Linked DNA regions of Homo sapiens: all the other regions are linked to region 2. Evidence: promoter capture Hi-C in 16 types of primary human blood cells and fetal thymus (Javierre and others, 2016). All regions are on one chromosome and are shown on one strand. The core of a region is centred on a gene start or on the middle of the fragment in contact, and the rest is flanking DNA. Distances in the headings are between cores, read along the strand shown. Region 1 overlaps GMDS (GDP-mannose 4,6-dehydratase). Region 2 holds the start of LINC01011 (long intergenic non-protein coding RNA 1011). Region 3 has its middle 43 kb from the start of PRP4K.

The links. The method cuts DNA at HindIII sites, captures the fragments that hold promoters and counts their contacts. A CHiCAGO score of 5 or more calls a contact.
Region 1: a fragment that was not itself captured here is called in contact with the fragment with the promoter of LINC01011 in region 2 in 1 of 17 cell types (neutrophils); the score reaches 6.6 in neutrophils.
Region 3: a fragment that was not itself captured here is called in contact with the fragment with the promoter of LINC01011 in region 2 in 1 of 17 cell types (fetal thymus); the score reaches 5.1 in fetal thymus.

The regions. Positions count from the first base shown.
Region 1 is chr6:2,238,142-2,240,841 of GRCh38, reverse strand. All of the region lies in intron 1 of GMDS (GDP-mannose 4,6-dehydratase), which reads left to right. Among named protein-coding and RNA genes, the nearest start is that of GMDS, 6.1 kb to the left of the region's middle. The HindIII fragment of the contact is 4,332 bases long and covers 1-2,700 here.
Region 2 is chr6:2,986,713-2,989,412 of GRCh38, reverse strand. LINC01011 (long intergenic non-protein coding RNA 1011) reads right to left here and starts at 1,446. Exons shown (of 3, transcript NR_026856.1): 1 at 1,382-1,446. It overlaps NQO2-AS1 (NQO2 antisense RNA 1), which reads left to right. Exons shown (of 2, transcript NR_186367.1): 2 at 1-77. RefSeq lists a silencer at 82-501 and enhancers at 1-694, 695-1,504. The HindIII fragment of the contact is 2,996 bases long and covers 1-2,025 here.
Region 3 is chr6:3,976,863-3,979,676 of GRCh38, reverse strand. It overlaps the pseudogene GLRX3P2. Among named protein-coding and RNA genes, the nearest start is that of PRP4K, 43 kb to the left of the region's middle. RefSeq lists a silencer at 1,088-1,382. The HindIII fragment of the contact is 944 bases long and covers 852-1,795 here.

The DNA.
Region 1 (2,700 bases), core at 29-2,528, 750 kb after region 2:
GAACAGCAAATGCAACAGACTGAATTACCATCTTCCTTATGACATTGATAGTCTAGTGGTATGATGATGGTGATAGTTATAATTATGGTAGATTAAAATAATTAACAAGTACTGAGCATTTAGTTTGTGCCAGGTACCGTTCAAAGTGCATTACATTTTGTTCAAAGTATATTTGTTGAAGCAACAGAGAGCTTCTATGAGGTGGTTTTCTTTTTCTTTTCTTTTTTTTTTTTTTTTTTTGAGACAGTCTTATTCTGTTGTCCAGGCTGGAGTGCAGTGACGTGACCTCGGTTTACTGCAACCTCTACCTTCCAGGTTCAAATGATTCTCGTGCCTTAGCTGCCTGAGTAGCTGGGATTACAGGTGTTTGAATTACTGCTTAGCTCTTTCTGAACTGCACTGGCTTTGGGTAAGTCACTTATCTTTTCTGCCAGGTTGGAAGAATAATTCTTATCAAATAGGAAATAAATCTGCACATAGTAGTGGCCTTTGCCTCATTACTGGAATGGACCTTCCCTCCATAGTGTTAACAGAATAATAAAAGATTTCTTGACTTTTAGGAAAGGAAGTTGAATGTGGGAGGTATTACTATTTAGCCTTGCTTTGCATGGGGAATCTATTATCTAGAAGCAGAAAGTTCTGTAATATTTGGAATCAACCACAAGGCTATAAAGTACTGGGAGGCCAACAGATTTAATGTCCAGTGAGTCTTTCAAGACTGTGCAAAGCAGATCTGGGAGCTGGTCTTATCTTCTCATATAAGAGGATTGTAGGCAGTGACTTCCATTCTAAATCTTCCTTGCTGGGATTTGCAGTCCTGGGATAAAAGGTTTGGCATTATTGGGCTGGGCGTGGTGGCTCACACCTGTGGTCCCAGCACTTTGGGAGGCTGAGGCGGGCCTCCCAAATCTCTGGATCACGAGGTCAGGAGATCGATACCATCCTGGCTAACATAGTGAAACCCTGTCTCTACTAAAAATACAAAAAAATTAGCTGGGCATGGGGGCAGGTGCCTGTAGTCCCAGCTGCTTGGGAGGCTGAGGCAGGAGAGTGGGGTGAACCCGGGAGGCAGAGCTTGCAGTGAGCCGAGATCGTGCCACTGCACTCCAGCCTGGGCGACAGAGCAAGACTCCATTTCAAAAAAAAAAAAAAGGTCTGGCATTATTGGAAGTGAGAGAGATGTCTTGAGTACTGTCCTGCTTAATCAAAGACTGTTACATGTGATTAATTGAAAGAGCTCTGGACTGGGAATCAGAGGTTGGGTTTTGATACCAATTAATTGTATAGCCTTACATTTTTTGAGTGTTTTTCTTAACTTGTCAAGTGAAAGGGTTACCTGGTTATTCTTAGGGATCTAAGGGCTGCTCCTAGTCTACAGTAGTGTGATGTTTGGATTACATGCTGACTTATTATGTGTACAATAGAGAAATTATGCAATTATCTTTATATTTAAGCAGTGCAGTAATTTCAGTTTTAGACATAAAGCCAATTGGATTTTTTTTTTTTTTTTTTGAGACAGATCTTACTCTGTTGCCTAGGCTGGAGTGCAATGGTGGTATGATCTCACTCACTGCAACATCCGTGTCCTGGGTTCAAGTGATTCTTGTGCCTCAGCCTCCTGAGTAGCTGGGATTACAGGCGTGCGCTACCACGCCCAACTAATTTTTGTATTTTTAGTAGAGTTGGGGTTTTGCCATGTTGGCCAGGCTGGTCTTGAACTCTTGGCCTCAAGTCATCCGCCCACCTTGGCCTCCCAAAGTGCTGGGATTATAGGCGTGAGCCACCGTGCCCGGCCAGGATAGTTTTTTTTTTAAATGAAACCAATGAACTATTAATTTTACTGAATTTGAAATTAAGTTTGTAAACTAAGAAGAAATTCATATGAGTTGTATGTTGTCAGAATTTGTAAGGATAGAGTGAAAACTTGGAGCTGTCCATCTTTGTAGGACATATCAAATGAATGAAGTGACTTTTTGGTGAGGAACGATTTTTTTTTTAACTGGTACATAATAATTGTACATATTTATGGGGTATGTGTGATATTTTGGTACATGTTTGTAAAGTTCAAATCAGGGAAATTAGGATAGAGGAAGGAGTTTTAAATTCTTGGGTTTTTCTTGGGTAGAAAAATGGAGTTAATTATGCCCACATCACAAATTGATGTGTGGATTACAAATGATGATTATATTATAATAAGGCCTATCACTGTTCCTGGCATGTAGTGTTTATGAAGTGATAGTTCTTATTTATTATGAATAAGTTCTCACAGTGGGAAGGAATGAGAGAAGGATGGAGAAGTGCTTGGGAATGCAGTTAGGGGTATGTAGGATGAATGAGAATAGTAAAAGTATGAGGATAATGAGATCAAGGATGCAAATGCATTTTGGTGACAGGTTGGATGGTAATAGTATGGCCAGAAATGCAACCACTGGGAAGGAAAATCAGTTTTCTGGGGGAAGACAGTGAATTATTTTGTTCCTCTGGAGTTTGAAGTGCAGTGGTGCAATCATAGCTCGCTGCAGCTTTGAACTCCTGGGCTCAGGTGATCCTCCTGCTTCAGCCTCCCTGGTAGCTGCCACCAAGCCTGACTGATTTTTTTACTATTTTTTTTTTTTTTTTGTAGAGACAGGATCTCACCAGCTGACCAGGCTAGTCTTGAACTCCTGGCCTCAAGCAATCCTCTGGTCTTGGCCTCCCAAG
Region 2 (2,700 bases), core at 197-2,696:
AGAACAGTCCTCTGCGCTGAGCTTGGACTTAAAGTGGAAAGGCTTACATTTGCAGAATTAAAAAAAGCATCGAAACATTCTGTGGCAGGAAGTCCTGCGAGCCTCCTCGCCCCAGCCCGGTTTCCCGCGGGCCCCAGCCTCATCCCCCAAGGCCCCACCCTGAGAGCCCCCAGGTCCCAGCCGCGTCCTCCTGGACCCCTCCCAGGCGTGGCGAGCCGGGTCGCGGGAGCGCTCCGCCACCAGGGGACAGTGCGGCGCCGACCGTGGGCTGCTGGCTCGGCCGAGGGCACCCAGGCGCCCTCCGCTGCAGCGGGCTGGTTGCAGAGGGGCGGGCTCTCGCCAGGCAGCAGGCGCTCCGGGCGCAGCTGGGAGGAAGGAACGCCCCCGGGAGTGGGCGGCGGCCGAGGGACCCTGCAACCGTCCTCCCTGGAGGAGGCCCCCGCAGCTCCCGCAGCCCCCCTCATCCCGGACGGGCCGGGGATTGGGACTGGCCTGGGGTCTCCTACTCTCCTACTCCGCGCAGGAAGTAGCCCCTTGGCAGGACCGGCGGTGCCTGCTGCTTTCAGGAGCCCCGAGCCGCTTTTGTCTGGGTGCAGCTCAGCTCACATCCCCGATGCAAGTCTTTCCCGGCTCGTCTCCCCTTCTTCCCGGAGTCCATGCCTTGCTGTCGGTGACTCATCCCACACTGTGCCCTGCGACTCACCCTGTCGCTTTCTCTGTTCATCCGGGAGCGCGGCGCCATCTCCCTCCAGCCCCGCCTCCCCTACAGTGCTCCGTGCTGAGGTCGCACGTTCTCTCCTCCCTCCAGCTCCCTGGCTCTTGGCCCTTCCCAGGCCACCAGGCGACAGCAGCCTCCGCCTTCATTTCCCTTGGTCATTTCAGGCGCATGCTTGGAGGATTTCAGGATCTGACTCAGCTTCCCCGCCATGCATCCCTCCACCAGCATCCAGTCACACCTCTGCAGCCTTCAGTGTCCTGGAAAGGACTGACCAATCTGACCCATTAGAACCTACCCAGACCAATTTGAAGGCCACTGCCCCTCAACCGTGGCCACCCACTCCTGCCCCACCTGGAGCCCCAAACTGCTCAGTTCCTTCTCTAAAACTCTGCCCTCTTTTGTTTGTTGTGAATAACTGTCTTCCCTGGTTCTTTCCACACCTCTCTGGCCTCTCCTTGTCTTTTTCTGGTTCTTTTTTTCTCTATTCTCCCTTATGCACTGGCCTTGCTGGAGGTCCCTGCTCTCCCTGCAAAACCTCACCACACCCTTGACTTCAGCTATATCCATTTCACCTCACGTTGACATCTGGTGCCTAGACCTCTCTCCCGAGCCTTCCACACCATGCCAAAAATGAAATTCATTTTCTCCTCTAAATTTGCTCACCTTCTTGTTTTCCCAATCTTATTTATTGTCACAGCCATTCCCCTGCTGGTCCAAGTCAGTAGTCTGAGAGTCATGCTAGACTCCTCCTTCCTTATCTACCCATCCACCAATCCCCAAGCCCTGTCTATCCTCCTTTTTTTTTTTTTTTTTTTCCAGTCAGAGTCTTGCTGTGTTGCCCAGGCTAGAGTGCAATGGCACGATCTCGGCTCACTGCAATCTTTGCCTCCCGGGTTCAAGTGATTCTCCTGCCTCAGCCTCCTGAGTAGCTGGGATTACAGGCGCATGTCACCACGCCCAGCTAATTTTTGTATTTTTAGCAGAGATGAGGTTTTGCCATGTTGGCCAGGCTGGTCTTGAACTGCTGACCTCGTGATCCGCCTGCCTCTGCCTCCCAAAGTGCTGGGATTACTGGCATGAGCCACTGTGCCTGGTCATCTATCCTCCTTTTTAAATAGCTCTGCCATGTGTGCCTGTCTCCCCTGACAGCTCACCCTCATCCTATTTGTCCACATTGCTGCAGAGTAGTCTCTTCCATACACCAGGAGTTCCCAACCCCCGGGCCACAGACCTGACTGGTCTGTAGCCTGTTAGGAACCAGGACACACAGCAAGAGGTGAGCCACCAGTGGGTGAGCTAGTGAAGCTTTATCTGTATGTGCAGCTGCTCCCCATTGCTTGCATTACCACCAGAGCTCTGCCTCCTATCAGATCAGGCAGCATTAGATTCTTATAGGAGCACAAACCCTACTGTGAACTGCACACATAAGGGATCTAGGATGTGCGCTCCTTATGAGAATCTAATGCCTGATAATCTGCCGTTGTCTTCATCACCCCCACATGGGGCCAGATAGTTGCAGGAAAACAAGCTCAGGGCTCCCACTGAAAATAAAGTGCACAAGAAGTGTCATGTGCTTGAATCATCCCGAAACCATCCTCTGCTGTCCAAGGAAAAATAGTTTTCCACAAAACCCCTCCCTGGTGCCAAAAAGGTTGGGATGGTTGCCATACATAACTCTGATGATGAGACCACGAAGCTCAGAATCCTCCAGAGGCTCTCCACTGCCTGTAAGATGAAATAAAATTTATGGGTGTGACTTATCCATAAGGGCCCAGTCTAAACTGCCTCATATTTAATTATATAGTAAGCTATTTGTTTCCTCAAACGTATATATTTTGGCCCATTTCCCAGTCTCCTAGGTTGGAATATGCTCTGTGTGTCACCTGGCCAGCTCATGCTCTTTCTCATTCTCAGCTCAAGTGTTAGGGACTCTATGACACCTTTCTTGATTCTCCCAGTCAGACATATTGTTGCTACTTTTT
Region 3 (2,814 bases), core at 74-2,573, 990 kb before region 2:
AAAGCCAATCTTAAGCATGTTGCGTGATTTCATCTATGCAACATTGATGAAACATCATTTTTGAAATGGAGAACAGATTACTGGTTGTGAGGGATTAGGAATGGGGGAAGAGGGAATAGGTATGTTCATAAAGTGGTAACATGCGGGACTCTTACGGCTATGGTACTGTTGTGTATCTTGATTGTGATGGTGGCTATCCAAGACAACACAAGTGATAAAATTGCAAAAAGTTATGCCAAACACACACGGGCATGTGTAACTTGTGAAATCTGAATGAGCTCTGTAGATTGTACCAATTTCAGTTTTTTTCTAGTAGCTGTATGTTTAATATTGCTGTAAAGATACACTTTTTTATACAGTTATTGTTAATAATTTGAAGATGTTTATTGCATTCTATTTTTAGTGGGAAAACATGTAACATACTTTTATTTAGCACGACATTGTGAAATACAAAAAACATGTAACTGAGTAAGCAGGATTTTTCTATTCCTAGCCCATTTCTGAGGACTAAATCATGAACTGCTCCCAATGTAATTAAGTATTTCTTGCAATAGTTGGGCACCAAGTTTAAGATTTATTAATTTTCTCCTCTCAGTATAGGCAGCAATTCACCATTTTCTTTCAGCTCTTTCACAATATCCAATCCTCCCACCAGCTCCCCTTTCACATACAGCTGAGGGTATGTTGGCCAATTTGAGTAAGCTTTTAATCCTTGCCGATCTCCTTCATCCTCCAATATATCGAATGTTTCATATTCACCACCAGTACTATTTAGTATTTCCAGAATTTGTTTGCTGAATCCACATTTTGCTTCCTGTTTGTTTCCTTTCATAAAGAGCATCATAGAAGCTTCATTTGTCAGCACTTTGAGCCTTTCCTCTAATTTGGGAGCTTTGGGACAAATTATATCTAGTTCTTCAGATGCGTGTATCTCCTTAATTATATCAAGTCCTCCTATGAGCTCTCCAGAAACGTAGAGCTGAGGATAGGTAGGCCAATTGGAATAGGCTTTGAGCCCCTGTCGAACCTCTTGATCTAAAGACATCAAAACTGCTAAACTAAATATTATGTTTGTGAACAATTTCCACCATCTGCTTGCTGAAACCACAGAGTGGTTCTTGAGGAGTTCCTTTCATAAACAGCATGCAGGGGGCAGCATGAGTCAGTTTCTGTAAGCGAAGGTTGAGATCTTCTTTAAGATGTTCGTCAGTGCTGGGTGGGAAGGAGCCACTAGATGCATGTCGCTGAGCTTTTTTGGTCTTTAAGATGTTCATCAGTGCTGGGTGGGAAGGAGCCACTAGATGTCGCTGAGCTTTTTTGGTCAACTCTGGGATGTGTGCACCATCTAATCGGTCAATTTTCTGAGAATTATTGAAAAACAGAAAAGTGGGAACAGAGCCAATTTCATATTTTTCAGATACTTCAGGAACACCTTCAGCTTCCAACTTCACAAATGAAACTTGAGGGTGTTCTTTAGCTAACTCTGCCATAACTTCGTTCATCTGTGCACATTGTGGACCACAAGGAGGGACTTGGCTTTGAGGCGCAGCAGCTCCTCAAACTGGCCGGCTGAGCTGACCTCTTCTACAGCTGCTGCAGCCGCCTTGCTGCCCCTGCCACCGTGCTGCCGCCACCACCAATTTCAATTTTTCATTTTCGATATTATGCTATAGTCGTTCAGGATGTTAACAGTGAGGGAGTCTGGGGGGGCGGTGCATGAGACATCCCAGTACCTTTTTTTGAATTTTGAAATAATATTTCCTGTGAATCTATAATTATTTAAAAATAAAAAGCTTTAAAAATCTTCAAATAAATAAGCAGATACTTTGGAAGATAAAGTCAATAACATATCCCAGAAAGAACAAAAAAGGCAGTGTGGAGGACAGAAGGAGAGAAGGGAAGGGAAAAGATAAGAAAATTAGAGAATCAACTCAGAGGTGCATGATATTAGGAATTCCAGAGAGAACAGAGTAAACAAAGGAGAAGAAACTAAAATAATAAAAATCTACACGAACTTGAGAACATGTGCTTTTGTACAGAAAGGGCTTCCTGAGTGCCCATTGCAGTGATGCAGAAAGGCCCAGCACATCGGAATGACCTTTCAGAACACTGAGAGGCAAGGAGAACATCTGTGCTGGATTGCCTCTTGTCAACCTGATGACACCACCGTTCTTCTGAGGTTGGGAACTATACTTCCCAGAATTCTGTTCCCAAGGTGGCAGGGATGGAGCTGAGCTTAGGCTCGGTGAAAGTCTGATTTGCAAATGGCTCCTGCAGGGTGCCCAGCCTGCCAACAGCAGAGACAAACATTGAGCCCATGATGTGGCACTGTTATTTGGGGGAATCAACAGTTTAAGTAACGTGGACCATTTCCATCTTGCCAGAAGCACTGCTTTGTTCTCACTGGAGATGGATGGATTGCCCTCCCTGTCCACAGTGGTTCCTCCAAAATGGTCATCTCTGGACTTACTTACAGAATACCTAATGTATGATAGTGGCACTCTTCCTAGCTTTGCTTCTGACAAGGAACTGATTTCACAGCAAATGAAGTGCAGCAATGTGCTCACGAAAGCATGATGTTGTGAATGCCTTTATTTGGAATTCACTGGTCTTACCATGTTTGCCATCATCCTGAAGCTTGGCTTGATAGAGTGGCAGAATGGGCTTTTGAAGATTCAGTTATGGTGCCAGTTGATAAAATAACTTTGTGGAGCTGATTTAGTACCCGATGAGATGCAGAACATACTCCGAATCAGTGACTCATTTATGATGTAGTTTCCCCCACAGCAAAGATACGAAGTTTTAAAAATCAAG